Regions from separate parts of the Homo sapiens genome. Here region 1 is linked to region 2. The links are contacts of gene promoters, found by promoter capture Hi-C in human tissues and cell types (Jung and others, 2019). All regions are on one chromosome and are shown on one strand. Each heading gives the region's core, a stretch centred on a gene start or on the middle of the fragment in contact. The rest is flanking DNA. Distances are from core to core; before and after follow the strand shown. Region 1 overlaps DNMBP (dynamin binding protein). Region 2 holds the start of ERLIN1 (ER lipid raft associated 1).

Region 1 (4,545 bases), core at 1,610-4,109, 270 kb before region 2:
CATATAATGAAATAGGTAAAAAAAATTGTTTAGATTTTCCCTATGAAAACCTTAACCAAAACTCACAAGCAGGTTTTGTTACTCAAATGTCCTAGTAGATACAAACTTACTATAAACATGAAGCTTATCAATGGTATTTTCAAGTATAAGAATCTCTAAGAACTAAACTGCATTATTCTAAAAAACAAATATGTATCCTGTCATTAGCTTTTACAATTATCTGACTATTACTTAGATACACAGGATGAGAGAGTTATCTATAAACATGGAACAGCGTTTGTTCATCTGAAATGAGCATTAAACATGGTAATAAGCAAAGGAAAAGAACAGCAGTGAAACAATCAGCCTCTGCTTAGTCTATCAAATTCTTTATGATCCAATTAAACAACTACAAATTTGGTATGTAAATATACTAGTAAGTCTGAGTACAATTACAGGACTATTTTAACCCAGGTTTAAGAAGCAAAAACACAAGTGTTCAAACTACTTAAGGAAAGTCGGCCTTCACAGCAGATTTTATTCTCCAAAACACTTTCCACACTGCTTTCTCTCAGAAGTTAGGAATTCTGGGACGGGTGCAGTGGCTCACGCCCATGATCCCAGCACTTTGGGAGGCCAAGGCTGGCAGATCACTTGAGGTCAGGAGTTCGAGACCAGCCTGGCCAACATGGCAAGCTTCCATCTCTACTAAAAATACAAAAATGCTAAGCATAGTGGCACACACCTGTGATCCCAGGTACTTGGGAGGCTGAGTCATGAGAATCACTTGAACCCAGGAGGCAGAGGTTGCAGCGACACGAGATAGTGCCATTATTGCACTCCAGACTGGGTGACAGAGAAAGACCCTGTCTCAAAAAAGTAATTCCAGTGTTTTAGAATACAACCCAAATTCTGGTTTCTAGATGCCATTCTCCACTAAAAGGAGGCAGGGTTCTTTGAAGAAATGGCTAATTCCAGGGCTGGGGCAGAGAAGGTATAGCTGAGCCTGAAATGTGGGAGAAAGTGAAGAAGTACTCAACAACATGGTGGGGATAGGTCAAAGGGCACAGAGGCCAGCTTGAAGGGGCTCCCACTGGCCAATCTGGCACAATTTGAGTATAAATGAAAAAGCACAATGGATTATTCCACTGAATAAGAACCTGTAAGTACATATTGATAATATGTAAGTACATAAATAAATGGGGGAGAAGAGAAAACTCTTTGTTATGGTAGAATGTCAGCTGATAAATAAGAGAAGAAATAATGGAGTCAGCAAATCACCATTTTAGGCCAAGTGTGGTGGCTCATGCCTATAATCCCAGCACTTTGGGAGGCCGAGGTGGGTAGATCACTTGAGCTTGGAGTTCAAGACCAGCCTGGGCAACATGGTGAAACCTCACCTCTACAAAAAATACAAAAATTAGCAGCACATGGACTGGCACACACCTATAGTCCCAGCTACTCAGGAGGCTGAGGTGGGAGGATGGCTTGAGCCTGGGTGGCAGAGGTTGCAGTAAGCTGAGATTATGCCACTGCACTCCAGCCTGAGTAAAAAAAAAATCTGGCCAGGTGCAGTGGCTCACGCCTGTCATCCCCGCACTTTGGGAGTCTGAGGCTGAGGCGGACAGATCACCTGAGGTCAGAAGTTCGAGACCAGCCTGACCAACATGGTGAAACCCCATCTCTACTAAAAATACAAAAATTTGTATTTTGCCTGTAATTCCAGCTATTCAGGAGGCTGAGGCAGAGGTTGCAGTGAGCCAAGATTGCACCACTGCACTCCAGCCTGGGAGAACAGAGCAAGACTCCATCTCAAAAAAAAATCCATGTTCATACAAAATACACACTGAAGCTTACTAAGGGGCACAATATATGCAATGTACTCTTAGTTCATTAAAGAAAAAAAAACTGCATGTGGAGAGTGGGGATTGACAGAGAATGAGATAAAAACAGCAAAATGTTAAATATGGGTGAATTTGTATAAAATGTATACAGGAGTTTTCATTGTACTATTGCAATTTTCTGTATATTTGGTATTATTCAAAATAAAACTTAAGACATAACAGAAAAAGCTCTTTCTCGAACTTTTTGGTAGAATGAATGGCAAAACTTGAAGCATAACCCTGATTTCATCAGTGTTCGATTATGATTCTAAATTCATTGTGTTACATATAAAATTTATTTCTAATAGGCTTGTTTTAAATTTTCTTTGTGATCTCAAAGCAACAGACTTTCAATCCCAAATATGGTCTCATTAGTGCCAAGTTGAGAATAGAAACTCATTTTAAATACAAGACTAAAAAGCTCTGGAGAGGGAGAACATTTACTGAATTCCTATCACATGCCAGGTACTTTACAGATTATATCCCTGAACTCATTTAATACTCACATCAGAATTTTTAAGTAGGTATTATTACTCCCATTTAATAGGTAAGAAAATCCAGGCTTGGAGAGGCTGACAAACTTGTCTGAGGTTATATAGTGAGTAAATGGCAGTTGTGGATTTAGAACCTAAATATATTTAAATCCAAATCCTGTGCACTTAATCCTGCACCATTTGGTTTCCCTGGCCTGGAATCTCAATGAGAAAAGGTCAGGGGCTTATTTGCTTCAAATCTTAAAAACTCCCTGGAAACCACTGTGTACTCTCCTGAGAATCAAAATTCTACTAATTATAGTAGTTGAAAACACAAAGTACCAGCAAGCACTTACTCATCAATCAGAAGCCAGCCAGCCTATGTATTAGATTTTTATTTCTTTAAAATGGAGAAAAACAATAACAATTCTTTTAAACTACCAGCGTGCCTTCCCCTGTGCCCCCACCCCCCGAAAATGGGGTTTATAAACTCTTGAGCAGCCTTTAAAAACCCAAACACTTTGGTGTGATTAAAAACCCCTGTGGGATGTTTTCACTATATTGCAGTTTCCTGGACACCATCCCTGGGATTCAGATTCAGCAAACCTGGGTGGGACCGGGGTATCCGCAATTTTAATAAAACCCTAGGTGTTTCCTTCCCTCCTCTTTCTCTTCCTCTCTCTTTAAAGGAGGGGGTTGTTACCCAGACTAGTTTCAAACTCCTGGGGCTCTCAAGCGATCCTCCCACCTCAGCCTCCCAAGTAGCTGGGACTATAGGCATGTGTCACTGCTCCTGGCAACCCAAGGTATTTCTGAAGACACAGGTGACCTTCAGGTGCCACAAACATTTATTAACACTCAAAGAGAGTTTTCAAAGATTAAGTCAAATTTTAAAGTCTGGCTTGAAATGACTGTAAGTATAAAAACTTTTTCCTTTATGCCACATATATTCTAATAAAAATATCTGCTCTAAAATTTTAGTATCTGGGCCATGCGTGGTGGCTCATGCCTGTAATCCTAGCGCTTTGGGAGTCTGAGGTGGGAAGACTGCTGGAGCCCAGGAGTTCAAGACCAGCCTGGGCAATATAGTGAGACACCCGTCTCTAAAAAAATTAAATTTTTAGTATCCCGGACAACAAAGCGGGAGAAGGCGGCCTTCACCCCCAGCCAGCTGTGGTGGAAAAAGAAGCTTTGAATCTTGCACTTCCCCACTATGTAGCTGGGGAGCCTTGGAAATGTCCACTTTTATCTCTTGGCCTCAATTTCCCAATCTATAAAATGAGGATAATAATACTTGCTTTGCAGAGTAGTTGAGGGAGTTAAACAAGGTAATAACCCAACAAACATAAGTCCTTTTCCCACAATGGGCCCGAATATGCCATCTGCACCTGATAGATGGTAAATACACTTGGTAAAATGTACCAAGCAGAAAAGTGCCCTGTGCAGACTCTAAAATTCCACTTTTCTATGAGAACAATAAAATGTGCAGACGAGCTCTTACTTTCTTCCTAGGATAGCCCGGCAGGTGTTAAAGGAGCTGGGACTGTTGCACAAATTTACTTCCTGTGATAAAACAATTAGTTGTGGGGTTCCTTCAGTGATTGTGGCTTACCCCCCACCCCAAGTCCTGATTCCATTCCTTCTCAAGACACCCCCAGCCCTTTCCGGTTAGTACATTATCACCAGGCTCACTTCCTAAAGTTCGAAGGAAGGGAGTCATTAGCCCACGGCTTCCCACAACTCCATCACACACACTTCAGAGTTAAAGAGCAGAGCCATGCGCCCTTCCCTTGCCTCAGAAAGCTGGATCTATCTCTAATGGGGAAAATTTTGAGCTCCCGGCCAGATCCCAGGTGCCCTTGAACAGGGACGAAGAGGCTGCCTGTTCCACTTCCTTCTGTGCTGGCTCCCACACCCCAGGACCTACCTGCAGTGCCCAGAGCTGGCTGTGTGTGGAGGTGTGGGCCTGAGGGTAAGCAGGCGGGACAGAATCTTCCCAGAGCTCTGGAATGCTCCACAACCCCCCAAACTCCTTTGAATAGGGTCGGCATTTCCCCCAGGCTTCCCACATTTACATATGAATCGCGCAAGTCACCCGGGCTATCACAGCAGGGCTTGTCCTAAAGGATGGAGCTGGAACCCTAAGCGTACTGGACTGAGAAGTGCACCAGCGGGCCCAGCAGTACCTGGATCAACACCTTCCTTTCTAT
Region 2 (4,443 bases), core at 1,200-3,699:
GTGGTTTAACATCATAACTTGTGTTGTAACAACTGTACTCTGAACGTTAACTTCTGCATTTAAGTAAATACCACCATCTGCTTAAGCAATAAGGAAATCTATCTCCACCCACAAGTGTGGTAACTCCTGTCATGCCTGTCTATCTGGTATGGAGGCTTCCCCTAGGAATCACTCACCTGCACAGATCTGAACGTAGTAATGAAAGGCAACATGATATGATAGCCTGGTCCACTGGGGCTAGTTAGTAAAGCTCCTCCCCTGCAAAAAGATGTTTCAATTTGACAAAATTATAAAAAGAAAAATTATCTTTCCAAATCTAAAATGCTATAATAAATACTCACTCTTGCTCATGCTGCTGACCTACTAAAGCCTCACTAATATGAATTGCTCATAATGAACAACTGCTTAAAATACCTCCACACCTAAAAAGGGAAAAAGATCAAATTAAACTGCCAATGTTACACCTTGTTTCATAAGCTCAACCAACCGTACCTCTGGGTCTCCAGCACTGCTCTAAGGTTCAAAGGATTCTCCTCGGTCTTTAACCTTCTGAGAAATATTTGTTTAAAAAATTCTAATGGCTTTCAGTAGAGGTACATTAATAGTACATAACAAGAGCCAAATCAAAATATATAATACATTTAATCACCAGGTTGAAAAAAAGACAATGCAAACTTTGAAGTAAAGAGAAAATTTCTGAGGCTTATAATTCTTTCGATCTATCTACAAGGTAATTAAAATACTGGGAACATAAAATTTCTATATAAAAACAAAAAATTAGCATGAAAAGATGAAGGGTGACAAGACTATACAAATAAATAGCATAAGGGCTTGTTAACCAAATCCTGGAATGTGAAAACTATGAAAGCAAGCCCTGGAAATTATAAAAAGGAGGCATTTGGGGAGCAAAGAAAACAAAGTCCTATTTTGCACCTTGTAAATTCATAGAACTTAGCTACCGGTCTTGAAAATATAAACACATTTGCAAGGTCATAATAACAAGGAAAGATGAACTGTTTGAGGTTCATTACTAATTCTTTGAGTCATTCCTTGAAATGTCCTTTCTCTGGTTTTACTGTCAGAAAGACAATGCTTTTAAACTGGAAGGAAATCTGGACTAATCTGTAATTTCTTATGTAGAGCTCCATCTGCTAAGATATACCATTAAAATTGCTCTTTTTCTAGGATTCAGGATGGATTTGAAAGTAGAAATATCAGTTTTGAGGGATAGTGGAAACAAGCAAAAAGTTGACGCTCTTTTTGAATACACCATTATCCCAATTTCTCCACAAACTGGCCTCTCTTACTAGTCTGTATCAAAAGGAACTTGTGGTAATTAGGCTGAAGGAAAAGCTAAGCGAGCTCAACAAGAGAGCAACAGCTCCCACACCACTCCTGTCCCCAACTTGAACAGCAACAGTAAGGAGGGAGGAGCATGGCCCATCAGTGTTGTGCTTATGTCCCTGGAGGTCCAGGGACATAAGCACCATCACAGTCATCATGGTGTTACAAGACGTAACCAGACACTGGAAGCTTTTAAATGAAAAAGTCTAAGAAACAACCATAAACATACAGCATCTACAGCGGCAAACTAAAGCCTGTACAGTTGAACGAACTATAATTTATCCATCTCTTCAGTTAGAGGTAGAGTGACTACTTCCTTTCTTCCTTCTTCATTTTTCTACAAATAATTGAGTTTGCTGTGTATAGGAATAACCGTAGGGAGACTTAATCTCTGCAACAAAACGAACATAGCACTAAAACTGTCCAACATCTGGAGGGTGCTCCGCAAAAGCCCGCTTCGACCCCCGTGCTCTCCCTAGAGATGGGACATGCGCCCCCGAACGTTGCAGAGGGAACAACTTCCCAGACTCCACTCTGGAGTACCCTTTTAATCTGCTCTAGAGCCCTAACTGACTGCACATGCCGCTCACCTGTAGTACACAGCCAGATGGCCCTCCTCAATCTTGTGGATGGAGGCGTAGAGCAGGACAGCCACCAACCCCACCACTGCAGCCACCAGAACCCGGGCTTGAGTCATATTCATTCTCGTTCCTCCTGGGAGCGGGAGAAAAGGACCCTCAGTCCCGTGAGTGACAGGTCCACCCCCTCCAGTTTCTACCCTCTCCCTCCGGAAACTTGGCGCTCTCTCGCAGGCTGAGCCGGGGAGTCCAGTACCCCTGTCCCCTCATTCTTCCCTTCTGGCTGAGCCCGCTGACCCCTTGCCAACTCCTCCGCCCCCGGAGGCCAGTGGGCCGCCCCTGCTCGGTGAGCTTCCTGAAACTCCCTCTCCCAAGGGTCGCTCCCGGGTGGAAGGCACTAACTGAGAAGAAGCCCAGCCGCAGGCTCGCGAGGAAAGCCGACCCCTCGGCCGCGCCTCACCGATCAGTGACGCATCGCCCCCGCCCGCACGTGCAGCCGACTCCCGCGCCGAGCCAACCGCCGCCAACAGCCGGCCCCGCCCACTCGCCCAGCACTGCGGCTGCGCGGGGACGCACACGGCGTAGCCCCGGCCCGCGGCTAGTGAGACGGGGAGCGCATGGGACAAAATTCTCCTAGCCGCGGGCCGCGCAGGCTCCTTTGGAGGCAAGTCGCTTTCTGTACACTGCTGGTTAACTGCTTCGGAAGAGGACAGCCCGCAGTCTGGAGTGAGCAGCGAAGCAGAGAAAAGGAGACGCCCTTTCGGACAAGGGACTGGTTGGTTTGTTCTTGTGCAGAGAACCCACTCGCTCACTCTCAAACGGTAGCTGTTCGGTTTATTTGTCCTTTTGCAGTGTATGCGGAGCCCCACTGTGTGGCACGCACTTGCTTCCGGCAGAGATCCTGCCCTTCAGGAGCAACTAAACTTGTTGCAAATAAAGTGCTGTGAAAGTTCAGAAGAGGAAGATATTAGATATAACGGCATCATTCTCTCGTTTTTTAAGTGTTCCTATTATGTGCCAGAATGCTGGTCCAGTGAGGGCTTTATGAAGGCCATCCAGACTACAGGAACAGAATTGCTAAGCACATGGGGCGGGAGGCGGAGGGAATCCTCCAGGGAGACCAAAGTAAGTACTTCAGTTTCCTTGAAGGCTTGTGTGATGGGAAGGAGTGCTATGGTAGGCGTCACTACATATTCTGTTCGTTTTAAATTAAAAAACCATGGGCACATATTGCCAAAAATAAAAAAGGGAAGGAAAAAGGTATAGTTGGGAGATAGATGAATACAAGAGAAATTAAGGACATTAATGGTTTAAGCCTTGAAAGGCTAGAGGTGGAACTATAACTGGACAAGGTGGACTAGGGTTGTAAAGTCCTCTAACCCAGCGGACGGGGTGGGGGTGTGTGTGGGTTGGGGATGAAACTGTTCCACTTCAGATCATCAGGCATTAGATTCTCACAGGGAGCCGGCAAACCTCACATGTGCAGTTCACAATAGGGTTCGCGTGCCTATGAGAATCTGATGCCACTCGCTAATCTGACAGCAGGCAGAGCTCAAGGCGATAATGCTCACTCGCCCGCCGCTCACCTCCTGCTATCCGGCTTGGTTCCTAACAGGCCACTGTCTGGTTCCGGTCCGCGGCCCAGGGCTTGGGGACCCCTGCCCTCTTGGGTAGGGAAGTATGGGAAAGCAGTGCTTTAGGGCCAATGAATCTATAAAACGGCTGAAAGTGGAGACAGACTGTTGGCAAGGAAGTCAAGTGGTTAGGAAACTGCAGGCCCAGGGTTACTTAGTAGTGGAAGTAAGAAGAGGTAAATAGAATCAATCCGTCTTCATTAAAGCAAGACTTCCCAGACCACTCTACCCACACCCTTCAATAAATACACTTACCTGTATCATTCATTTGATTTTTATTATCTAGGAATGTCTGGGACCTTATCTGTTCCAAATAAATGATATTTGCAGAGCTTAGCTATTTTAACTTCCAAAAAGCAAAAAGAATGGAAAATAACTTGCTCCATACCCTGTTTTCTGTAGACATTCTCTGAAGTTTTTCATAATATTGCTTAAAGAATGAAATGTATACAATTCACAACTGCCATTCCCCTCTGAAAAGTTGTTACCCACCAAAAAATAGTGGTCCAACTCATGCATCAAAAGCAAGTTTGGGGATCCCACTATAATAGTCTGTTCTGACTCACACCATCTGCCCAAATTATATAGATCAGGCTGCCCTGACATAACCCCAGCCACACACCAGCAGCGGCCCCCACGCTATAACAAATCTTTAACCAATTATTAAAATATTAGAAAATGCATGACCATTGAAAATAATCCTTAACAATAATTGCAATGCTTGGATGGCTTGTAATGTTCAGACTCCCAGATAAGCACTTTTACTATACTGCCTATGTTGTTTCAGATCTTGCCATCTAGCTTAATACCCTCCAAGTAACAGGTACCCAATAAATGTTTATTACTAAAATCTTCTAAAACCAGGGAAACAAGAGAGAGACTGCCTA

The links. The method cuts DNA at HindIII sites, captures the fragments that hold promoters and counts their contacts. A contact is called where the count stands out against the background at its distance.
Region 1: a fragment that was not itself captured here is called in contact with the fragment with the promoter of ERLIN1 in region 2 in 2 of the 25 tissues and cell types used here (H1 embryonic stem cells and thymus).

The regions. Positions count from the first base shown.
Region 1 is chr10:99,909,691-99,914,235 of GRCh38, forward strand. All of the region lies in intron 4 of DNMBP (dynamin binding protein), which reads right to left. Among named protein-coding and RNA genes, the nearest start is that of DNMBP-AS1, 15 kb to the right of the region's middle. RefSeq lists enhancers at 3,586-4,208, 4,209-4,545. The HindIII fragment of the contact is 4,920 bases long and covers 400-4,545 here.
Region 2 is chr10:100,183,580-100,188,022 of GRCh38, forward strand. ERLIN1 (ER lipid raft associated 1) reads right to left here and starts at 2,450. Exons shown (of 11, transcript NM_006459.4): 1 at 1,935-2,450; 2 at 177-258. The coding sequence starts at 2,047. It also overlaps a transcript of CHUK not described here. RefSeq lists a silencer at 2,348-2,497 and an enhancer at 2,668-2,817. The HindIII fragment of the contact is 5,345 bases long and covers 747-4,443 here.